Regions from separate parts of the Homo sapiens genome. Here region 1 is linked to region 2. Evidence: promoter capture Hi-C in human tissues and cell types (Jung and others, 2019). All regions are on one chromosome and are shown on one strand. Each heading gives the region's core, a stretch centred on a gene start or on the middle of the fragment in contact. The rest is flanking DNA. Distances are from core to core; before and after follow the strand shown.

Region 1 (4,407 bases), core at 513-3,012, 370 kb after region 2:
TTGAGCAAGAATGGTTAATGTTAGGTTTATTAATTATTAATGTCAATGCATTTGAGAAAATCAAAGAAGAAATAGAAGGCAAGGTTCTGAACCTGATATTTAGTAGTGGTGTTTTATAAACATTGCTTTTTTTTTTTGAGACGGAGTCTTGCCTGTCGCCTAGGCTGGAGTGCAGTGGCACAATCTTGGCTTACTGCAAGCTCCACCTCCTGGGTTCACGCCATTCTCCTGCCTCAGTCTCCCGAGTAGCTGGGACTACAGGTGCCCGCCACCACGCCCGGCTAATTTTTTGTATTTTTAGTAGAGACGGGGTTTCACCATGTTAGCCAGGATGGTCTTGATCTCCTGACCTCGTGATCCACCCGCCTTGGCCTCCCAAAGTGTTGGGATTACAGGCGTGAGCCACCGCGCCCAGCCAACATTGCTTTTAAAGTTAGAAACAAGATGAAGATGGTGTGGCCACCATGAGAGTGTGCCCTGCACCTCCAACTCAGGAAATGCACCTGAACCAAGGGCCCCACCCACTGCCCTTAGGAATCCCTGGCAGCCTTAAGGCCCAAGTCACACCACCACATGCTGCTCACCAACAATGACTGGGGACAGATCAGTTCCTGGGAGACAATGTGACAGACTAGTTCCTGGGAGACATCACTCCTCTGACAACCACCTTTGGCTTCAGGACTCCCTGATAGCTTTGCTAAATCTTCCTGAGTGCACACGTTTCCACCCAACCTTCCCTCCAGTTCTGCTTCACCAAACACAGCGATGTAGGTCAGTGGGGTCTCCATGCCTTCCCGCTCACCCCTCAATGCCCCTCATAGGGGGCTCCCCTAGTAAAAATCCTTGGATGTTTTTCCATCTTGGTATCTGCTTCTAGCAGGACTTTGATGGAGTTTAGGATGTGCCTTCCCAAAATACAGCAACTTGGCATACTGAATATTTTAAGCTGAAGGAATTTGAGAAATGGCATGGGCAGGCAGGATTTTCTGACCTTCCCCTGTAGTAGGTATAAGACCCTCCTGTGAGAGGTACTCCCCCTATACAGGAAGGAAAGGCATATCCTTATTTCCAAAGATGAACGCTTGCCAAGAGGGATCTGAACACACAGGCCCGCTGTTCCGCCATTTTATTACACTTGGCTCATACTCTCATACTTCTTTTGTCTTATCATTATTTCTCCATGACTAATCAAAATTTTTTTCTCTCTCTATATATAAACATATATATATAATATATGTGTGTGTGTGTGTGTGTGAGAGAGAGAGAGAGAGAGAAAGACAGAGAGACAGAGAGAGACAGAGAAAGAAAGAGAGAGGGAAAGAGAGGAGCTGTATCATGGGTATTTTTGTTGATGTCTGAATTAGAAACAAGCATGCACACTATCAACATTGTTTGGGAAAGTTGTAGCCGGTGCAGTAAGACACATAACAATAGGGTTGTCTAGGGCAATAAAAAGAGGCAAACGATTATGTACATAGTGTAGGAAAAAATGGTGTTGCGGCTCAGAATGTCACCCCGAAATACGGAACTTTGAAGGTGTCTCTCTGACTTTTCCCTGCCTTTCTGTGTGAGAGCTAGTCATAAAGGAATTCTTTGACCTTCCTTTCCTGAAAGTAGGCAGTGAGACCTCCACCCCATGTGACAGGTGTCCTGTCCTATTACCAGGAGGAAAGAAATGCTACACAGAGGGGCCAAGAAGAATCTGAATGAACAGGCCTTGCTAAGTTCTCCCCAGCTTATTACCATTAGACCACAGGTTTTTTGTCCAATCATACTTGTACATGACTGTCCATCCTTCATCAAACCTAAGCATACATATATACAGATAGTCAGGTGCAGTGACATGCACCTGTAATCCCAGGTACTTGGGAGGCTGAGGCAGGAGGACTGCTTGAGCCCAGGAATTCAAGGCCGGTCTGGGCAATACAGTAAGATCCCAGTCTCTAAAAAAAATTTTAAATTAAGAACTACAGTTCTCCCTGGGTCTTTGAGTCTTCATTTCTGAAGGTTCCTGTATCACGCAAAACTTTGATACATTTGTTATGGTGTCCTCTTGTTAATCTGCCTTTTTAAAATAGGGGTATCAGCAAAGACCCTTGAGATGGGTGAGGAAAAGCTATGATTTTTTCTCCTCTACAGTGGAAAGCAATGGATCCTCTGTAATGTACCCTTCTGGGTTATCAGATTTGAGTCCTGTTCATTATCTTTGAGCTATTTTTTAACTTTATAAGTTGTAGGTAACTGATAGACATATAAATTCTGTCTGGTCTGGTAATGATTTTCTCCTAACTTCTACCTGTGGAAAATTTTGTCTCCATCTGAAATTCATCTCAACATCCCTTCATGTCATATAAATATGTGCTGTCTTAACTCTTCTTTAACATCTGCCTGGTACTTCATATTATATGAGTAAAATAAATTCTTTAATACATGTTCATTTCTATATCTGTATAAAGTCACAATTCTACTTTTCTGAAAATTATCTTTTAACAATTGGAAGCTAAAAAGGATAAAATAGGAAACAGTTAATATAATTAATAGGAGTATTTCTGCTGATGTGACTGCACAAGAGTGCCCAGTATTTCCAGCAAGAACTGAGCTGTAAATGTATAATGGCAGAAGTAATGTAGATGTATGAAATAAACTATTCACTCACTTTTTTCTGTCATCTAGGGATGACAATAAATGTGAAAACAGTATTAAGAATTAAAAAATTAATGTAATGGAGTAAAATTAATAAATGGAAAGATGTAAATGGATGAGGAGAGCAAATATTGAAAAGATATAAATATTGTTATAGTTAGGACATTTTAAATAATGTCTAATTATGACTTTAATCTAGAAGAAATAACAAAAACAAAACTAAGAGAAGACTATTGAAGAGATACTAATGTGAAATTAATTCAAACTGGCTGGGCGTGGTGGCTCATGCCTGTAATCCAGCACTTTGGGAGGCTGAGGTGGCTGGATCACCTGAGATCAGTTTGAGACCAGTCTGGCCAACATGGTGAAACCCTGTCTCTACTAAATATACAAAAAAGAAAAAATTAGCCATGCATGGTGGTGCATGCCTGTAATCCCAGCTACTCGAGAGGCTGAGACAGGAGAATCACTTGAACTCGGGAGGCAGAGGTTGCAGTGAGCCAAGATCCGGCCACTGCATTCCGGTCTGGGCGAGACAGTGAGACCCTGTCTCAAAGAAAAAAAAAAATTCAAACTTAAAGTTACTGGAAATTGAAATTATTCTGAGCCTTGAGAGAAATGTGGCTATGTGGCCTGAGTCATGTAATATGCAGCTGCAACTTCTACTTCTCTGATTTAAATCAACTTTCTTCCTTATTCTTGTACTATAGAAAATTAGGAAGACCTAATGGCACCGGATATAGGACCCCTTCAGATCACTACCTCTTCTCAGGGAGTAACAAAGTAATCTTTCTTGGAATATAGCATTCTATAACCAACCAAATCACTGTAATGAATGCACTGGTTTTGTATGGAAAACTCTGCAATCCTGCTAAAATTTCTCTGTCTCTGCCTACATAAGTGAAACCTTAACTTCACTGCTTTGGAACGCTGACCCCGTTCATCTGGAGTTAGTGTTTCCTGGGTGGCTATACTCAAGCTTTGTGCGCAAATAAACTCTATATTTAATCATGTGTTCTGATCTCACTATTTAACATTAACACTAATATTACCATATGTTTACATAAAACAATATTATGTTGACCTGAGAACAGAAATCAATCCGTGAAAACACATAGAGCAAGCTCTCCCAAGAGCTTGTAGAATTATTGAAGGATCTGATTTTCATTATCCACAGAGCCTGACCATAGGTAGCTTAGGCAAAAAGAGGAACTTTCTGGGAGAGGATTCCATTGTAGCTTACCTAACTGAAGAAAGCTGTCTAACGAAGTCAAGGTCTTGGCAGCAGGAGACCCTGTCTACCCTCTGTTCCCTACCCTTAGAGCTATGCCATAAACCCAGCAGCAAAAAACCCTCCAGGATGGTTCCCTGGCTCTGTCTTCTCTTGCCAAATGTCAAATGGCTATGAGACAGGTAGATTTGTAAGATGCACCACCTAGGAAAGAAAAAAAACTCCTGCCAATAAAACTGATACCTATGAAGGTAAGACCCATACTGATTTTTCTGAGATTTCAATCTCTGACACATCCGTAATGAACAATGAGTGGGACTCCTTGGTTGGTGAATGAATAGTGCTAAAAGGTGGAGTACAGTGTTACAGTGAGAAGATAATTTTTTGGCCAATAAACATATAAAAATGCATTCACTATTACTAATCAGGGAGACACAAATCAAAAATACAATGAGCTATTACTTCATATCCATTAGGATGGCTACCATCAAAAAAACAAAATAGAAACAAATGTGTTGGTGAAGACACGGCGA
Region 2 (4,316 bases), core at 445-2,944:
TCATTATGGTTGGCAGCCACAGTTTCCATTGCAATGTGACAGTCTTGATTTTTCCCATGGAAAGTGTGGTATTTGTGTCCGGGCTATGAAATTGGTAATGTCATTCCTGTTTCACAGATGAGGAAACTGGGGTTCAGAGAGCGAAAGTGTGGTCCTGCCAGGAGTAGTGGAGCTAAGACTGAACCTCACACCTCGGGGCCAGCACCCAGGCCTGCTATGTCCTCTCTGTCCCTGACCTAGTGGGTAGCCAGAGCTGAGAGGACAGAGCAGAGCTTGAGAGGAACAATATTTCGTGAGGCATGTGAGGATTGAAAGCCTCATAGAGTCCTTCAGCCATGCTCTTGGCATAAGGACTGATGTGTTTATAGTGACTGGTGAATTGTCAGACCTCAACCAACCACCGTTCTCCACTGGAAGCTGATCTTGGAAAGGTCAGAGGTCCCGAGGGTCTGCAGGTGGGAAGGAGGAGACTGACATTTATTGAGCACCTACTTGGTGCCAGACACTGAAAGTATTAGAGATTAAGGGTGACTTGCCTCTGTTCTGGCCCCAAAGAAGCACCATCTGATAGAAAAATAAGTAGCAACATGGTATGGTAGAGTCTGGAATGGGGTTTACTGTGAATTGCGTAGGGCGTGGCAGAATTCACAGTAAAAGGTTTTTGGAAGAAGTGACACCATGGTGGGGTATTACTGAGCAAAGGGGAAAAGGAGGGAGGGAGAGGAGGTAAGAATATACAAGGCTCCGCTGGGCGCGGTGGCTCAGGTCTGTAATCCCAGCACTTTGGGAGGCCAAGGCAGGCGGATCACAAGATCAGGGAATCGAGACCATCCTAGCTAACACGGTGAAACCCCATCTCTACTAAAACTACAAAAAAATTAGCCGGGCGTGGTGGCGGGCCCCTGTAATCCCAGCTGCTCGGGAGGCTGAGGCAGGAGAATGGCGTGAACACGGGAGGCGGAGCTTGCAGTCAGCCGAGATTGCGCCACTGCACTCCAGCCTGGGCGACTGAGCGAGACTCCCGTCTCCAAATAAATAAATTAATTAATTAAAGAATACACAAGGCTCCACTGGGTTACTGGGTGTGCTGTAGGGAGATTTTATTGAATCCCATACTCCCATATTGGAAGAACACTCAAGCCCATTTACAGTGTGGGACTAATGCTGAGAGGTTGAGTCACATTGGCAGGAAAGAGCAGAGCCAGGAACTGAAGCTAGGTCTGTGACTTAGAGCCGGCACTCTTTCCACTGCAGAGGGGAGAGGTCTCAAGGCAGAACCTGGGGCTGTGCACACCGCGGGAAGGGCAGAGGCCCCTGGAAACGAACAGGAGCAGGAGGCCCAGGGCTGCGCAGCAACCAAGGAGGACACGAGGAAGGTGCTTGTGCCACCGGTGGAAGACGTGGCTTTGGCTTTTAGGCTCCCCTCGGGGCAGGAGCAGATCAAAGAGCCTAGCCCCAGCTTCGGTGGTGGGTGGGGGGTCCTCCCGGCAGCGGGGAGCGTGGGCACCAGCATCCTCAGCCTGCGGCTCCCAGGCGAGTGTGGGAGGGCAGAGCCCAGAGAATTGGAGGTGGGGCCAATGTGGGCCCCGCCCCCAACCATTGTGTCGGAGAGGGAAGTGGACGAGCTCCTCGGTAAGAACCAATGAGGATGTGGTATGCAAATAAGCAAGTGGAGGCCGCCAGCCGACTTCCTCGCACTGTGCAGCTGCTCCAGTGAGGGCGCAGACTGTACTGGCCTGTGCGGAGCAAGGCGGTGTTTCTGGTGAGTCTGTTGATTCTGGGCTGGGGTGAAAGCCAGGTTGCCCAGGGTTTGGGAGGAGGGCGGGTCGAGCACACGCAGATCCAAAGATGATCGGAGACAGGATTGTCCTCAGCGATTCCACCCCGATGACTCTGGAAACTGCCTGCCTGCAGACGCATGGGGGCCATGGAGCAGAGGAAGGGCTGGATGCATGAAGGAGGCGGGGTGCGGGGAGCGAGGGACCCGCAGACTCCAGGGCCACAGATGCGTGGACCTATTGGAGACCCTCAGGTTGTCTCCCCACCCCACGCAGAGAGGAATGCGCAGCTGAAGAGAGAGGTGGGCAGCAGGCCCGGTCACCTGCCAGGTGACCACATGGCCAGGTGCCGCCACCACTCGGGTTACCTGGCCGATGACGAGGCCAGCCACTCCATGTGCAGTGCACGGGTAAGTGTGCCCAGCAGGGCGCCGACCCTTGAGGCCACAACATGTTCCCCACCAACCCTGGCACCCAAGACCACAACCCCCATTTCTCATTGTCTATTGACTTCTCTGGGCCTCTTAGTGAAGTCCTTATTGCCTTGACTTCTCCTATGTCCCCCACTGCTTGCCCCTGTCACACTCAATTTCATTCCTTGTTTCCTCCTGACTTCCAGCGACCCAGAAGGTGCTTGGGTGGACTGGGACCCTAGAGTGGGAGCATGGAGTTGACTAGGTGCCTATGGCTCAAGTTGGAGAAACAGGCCCGGGTAGCACAGGGCTCAAGACCTCAGGTGTTGTCTGCACTCAAGACCTCAGATGTTGTTTGCAGCCCTGCCATGGATACAGGGATGGCCTGCTGCATGGACAGATGAGGAGCTGGAGGGAGACTCCGAGAGATTCATGATTGCTCATCCTGCCACGTGTCAGGGCAGAAGCAGGCTTGCAGACTCCTTAGCCAGGACTTGTGTGTGTGAAATGTAGGTGTTAGGAAAGCTTCGGGGTGACCCTGAATAGACCTCCACTTTGCAGATGAGGACATTGGACCTCAAGAGGGGCCATCTTGCACACTGGCATCAGGCTGTAGGTGGCAGAGCCAGGGTCCAAACCCAGGGCTTCCAGACTCCAAAATGCAGCTCCTTCCACTACTCACTCCCACCCAGGTCCTAGTGTTACCCCAGGGAACCCTTCACCTGTAGGGCACCCCTGCCCCCTGTGACATACCTGTCTGCTCAGGTGCAGCTGCCCAAGAAGCCACTGGTCCCAGAAATGCGGCCAGCCTGCAAGCCGGGCCGTGTGCCACACCCACCATCCACATGTGGCAGCTCAGCACTCCAGGGCCAACGCCGAAACAAGAGGCACCCTCAGCCCTTTGGCCACTTTCTGGATTTCCTAACTGAGAGCCAGGTCCTGGACAGCCTGGAGACAGTGGTGGAGAAGGCGACTGAGCGCATGGCTGCCATGAAGACGGAGGCTGGGGTGCCGCTTGTGGAGGTGCAGGACCCAGTGGAGGTGCCAAGTGGTGGACGGCGGGCACATGCCCGGCCCAGCCTCAGCACCGTACACCGGCACCGTGTACGGCCGACCCTCTGCACTGGACACCCCAACAACTACCCATCCAGCTCCAGCTCCATGTCCAACTGCCATAGCAGCCTCATGGCCGGCTGTCTGGGCTCCCACAGCCGGGACAGTGACCTAGGTGCCCAAGGCTCATTGCCACCTGTGAGGGACAAACTCCTGCTGGAGAAGAACCTCAAGCGGCTGCTACAGCTGGAGAGGGAAGGGGTGAGAGCCAGGGCCATGGCTGGGTGGGGTGGACTCCCATGGAGAGCCCAGGGCTAGGGTCAGCCCTGGCTTGGCTGCTCCTGAACACTTCACAGAGTCACCCTCTTTCTGCAGAAAGGCCTCAGTCAGTCCTGCTCCCAGAGGGACTCCCTGCTGTGGGATTCGCTGGGTAGCCAGACCAGCTTTCAGTGGACACAGGAGCAGCCCTTGTCCTGGTTCTCAGGGCTGCTGGGCTCAAGCTCTGGCGTGCCTGAAGCATCAGAGCCGAGGCCTGGAGAACAGGAGCCAATCTTCCGCAAGCGAGAGTTCAATAAGGAGATCAAGTCATTACTGAGCCAGCTGGAGTCCCTCGACCTGCCTGGCTACTGTCCGCTCCGTGAGCCCCATCGCACGCTGAACTTCCTGGCTGACCACCGCCTCTTCCCTGCCCTGCAAAGCGTGGTCAGCCAGGCTGTGGATAAGCTCCGTGGCGCCCACTGCCGCGACGGCCGTCCTCTGTTCCCCACCAGCTTGGAGCCCACCTCAGATCTGCCGCCTCTGGGCTCTGAGCCAGCTAAACCCACCAATGGCGGGCAGCCCTATGCTTCCCCCCGCCCCACAGTCTCCAGCCCCAAGATGCTTCAGAGAAAACGCAAGGACAGAGGAGGCTCCCCCTCCATGTCTAGTGCCCAGGTGGCCACCAGATTCAAACTCAAGGTGACACCCACGGAGAAGCCCAATGTCCCCAGCCCCTCACTCCACTCCAGGGAGGAGGCACCTGACTCAGATCCCAAATTACAAAACCCACCTGTTTCCCTGAGCTCCAGCCAGA

The links. The method cuts DNA at HindIII sites, captures the fragments that hold promoters and counts their contacts. A contact is called where the count stands out against the background at its distance.
Region 1: a fragment that was not itself captured here is called in contact with the fragment with the promoter of CCDC116 in region 2 in 1 of the 25 tissues and cell types used here (dorsolateral prefrontal cortex).

What each region holds. Positions count from the first base shown.
Region 1 is chr22:21,997,190-22,001,596 of GRCh38, forward strand. It overlaps the pseudogene PRAMENP. Among named protein-coding and RNA genes, the nearest start is that of TOP3B, 17 kb to the left of the region's middle. The HindIII fragment of the contact is 5,385 bases long and covers 1-4,407 here.
Region 2 is chr22:21,631,066-21,635,381 of GRCh38, forward strand. It overlaps CCDC116 (coiled-coil domain containing 116), which reads left to right and starts at 1,695. Exons shown (of 5, transcript NM_152612.3): 1 at 1,695-1,762; 2 at 2,055-2,188; 3 at 2,957-3,505; 4 at 3,620-4,201. The coding sequence starts at 2,117. RefSeq lists an enhancer at 1,427-1,926. The HindIII fragment of the contact is 5,816 bases long and covers 1,345-4,316 here.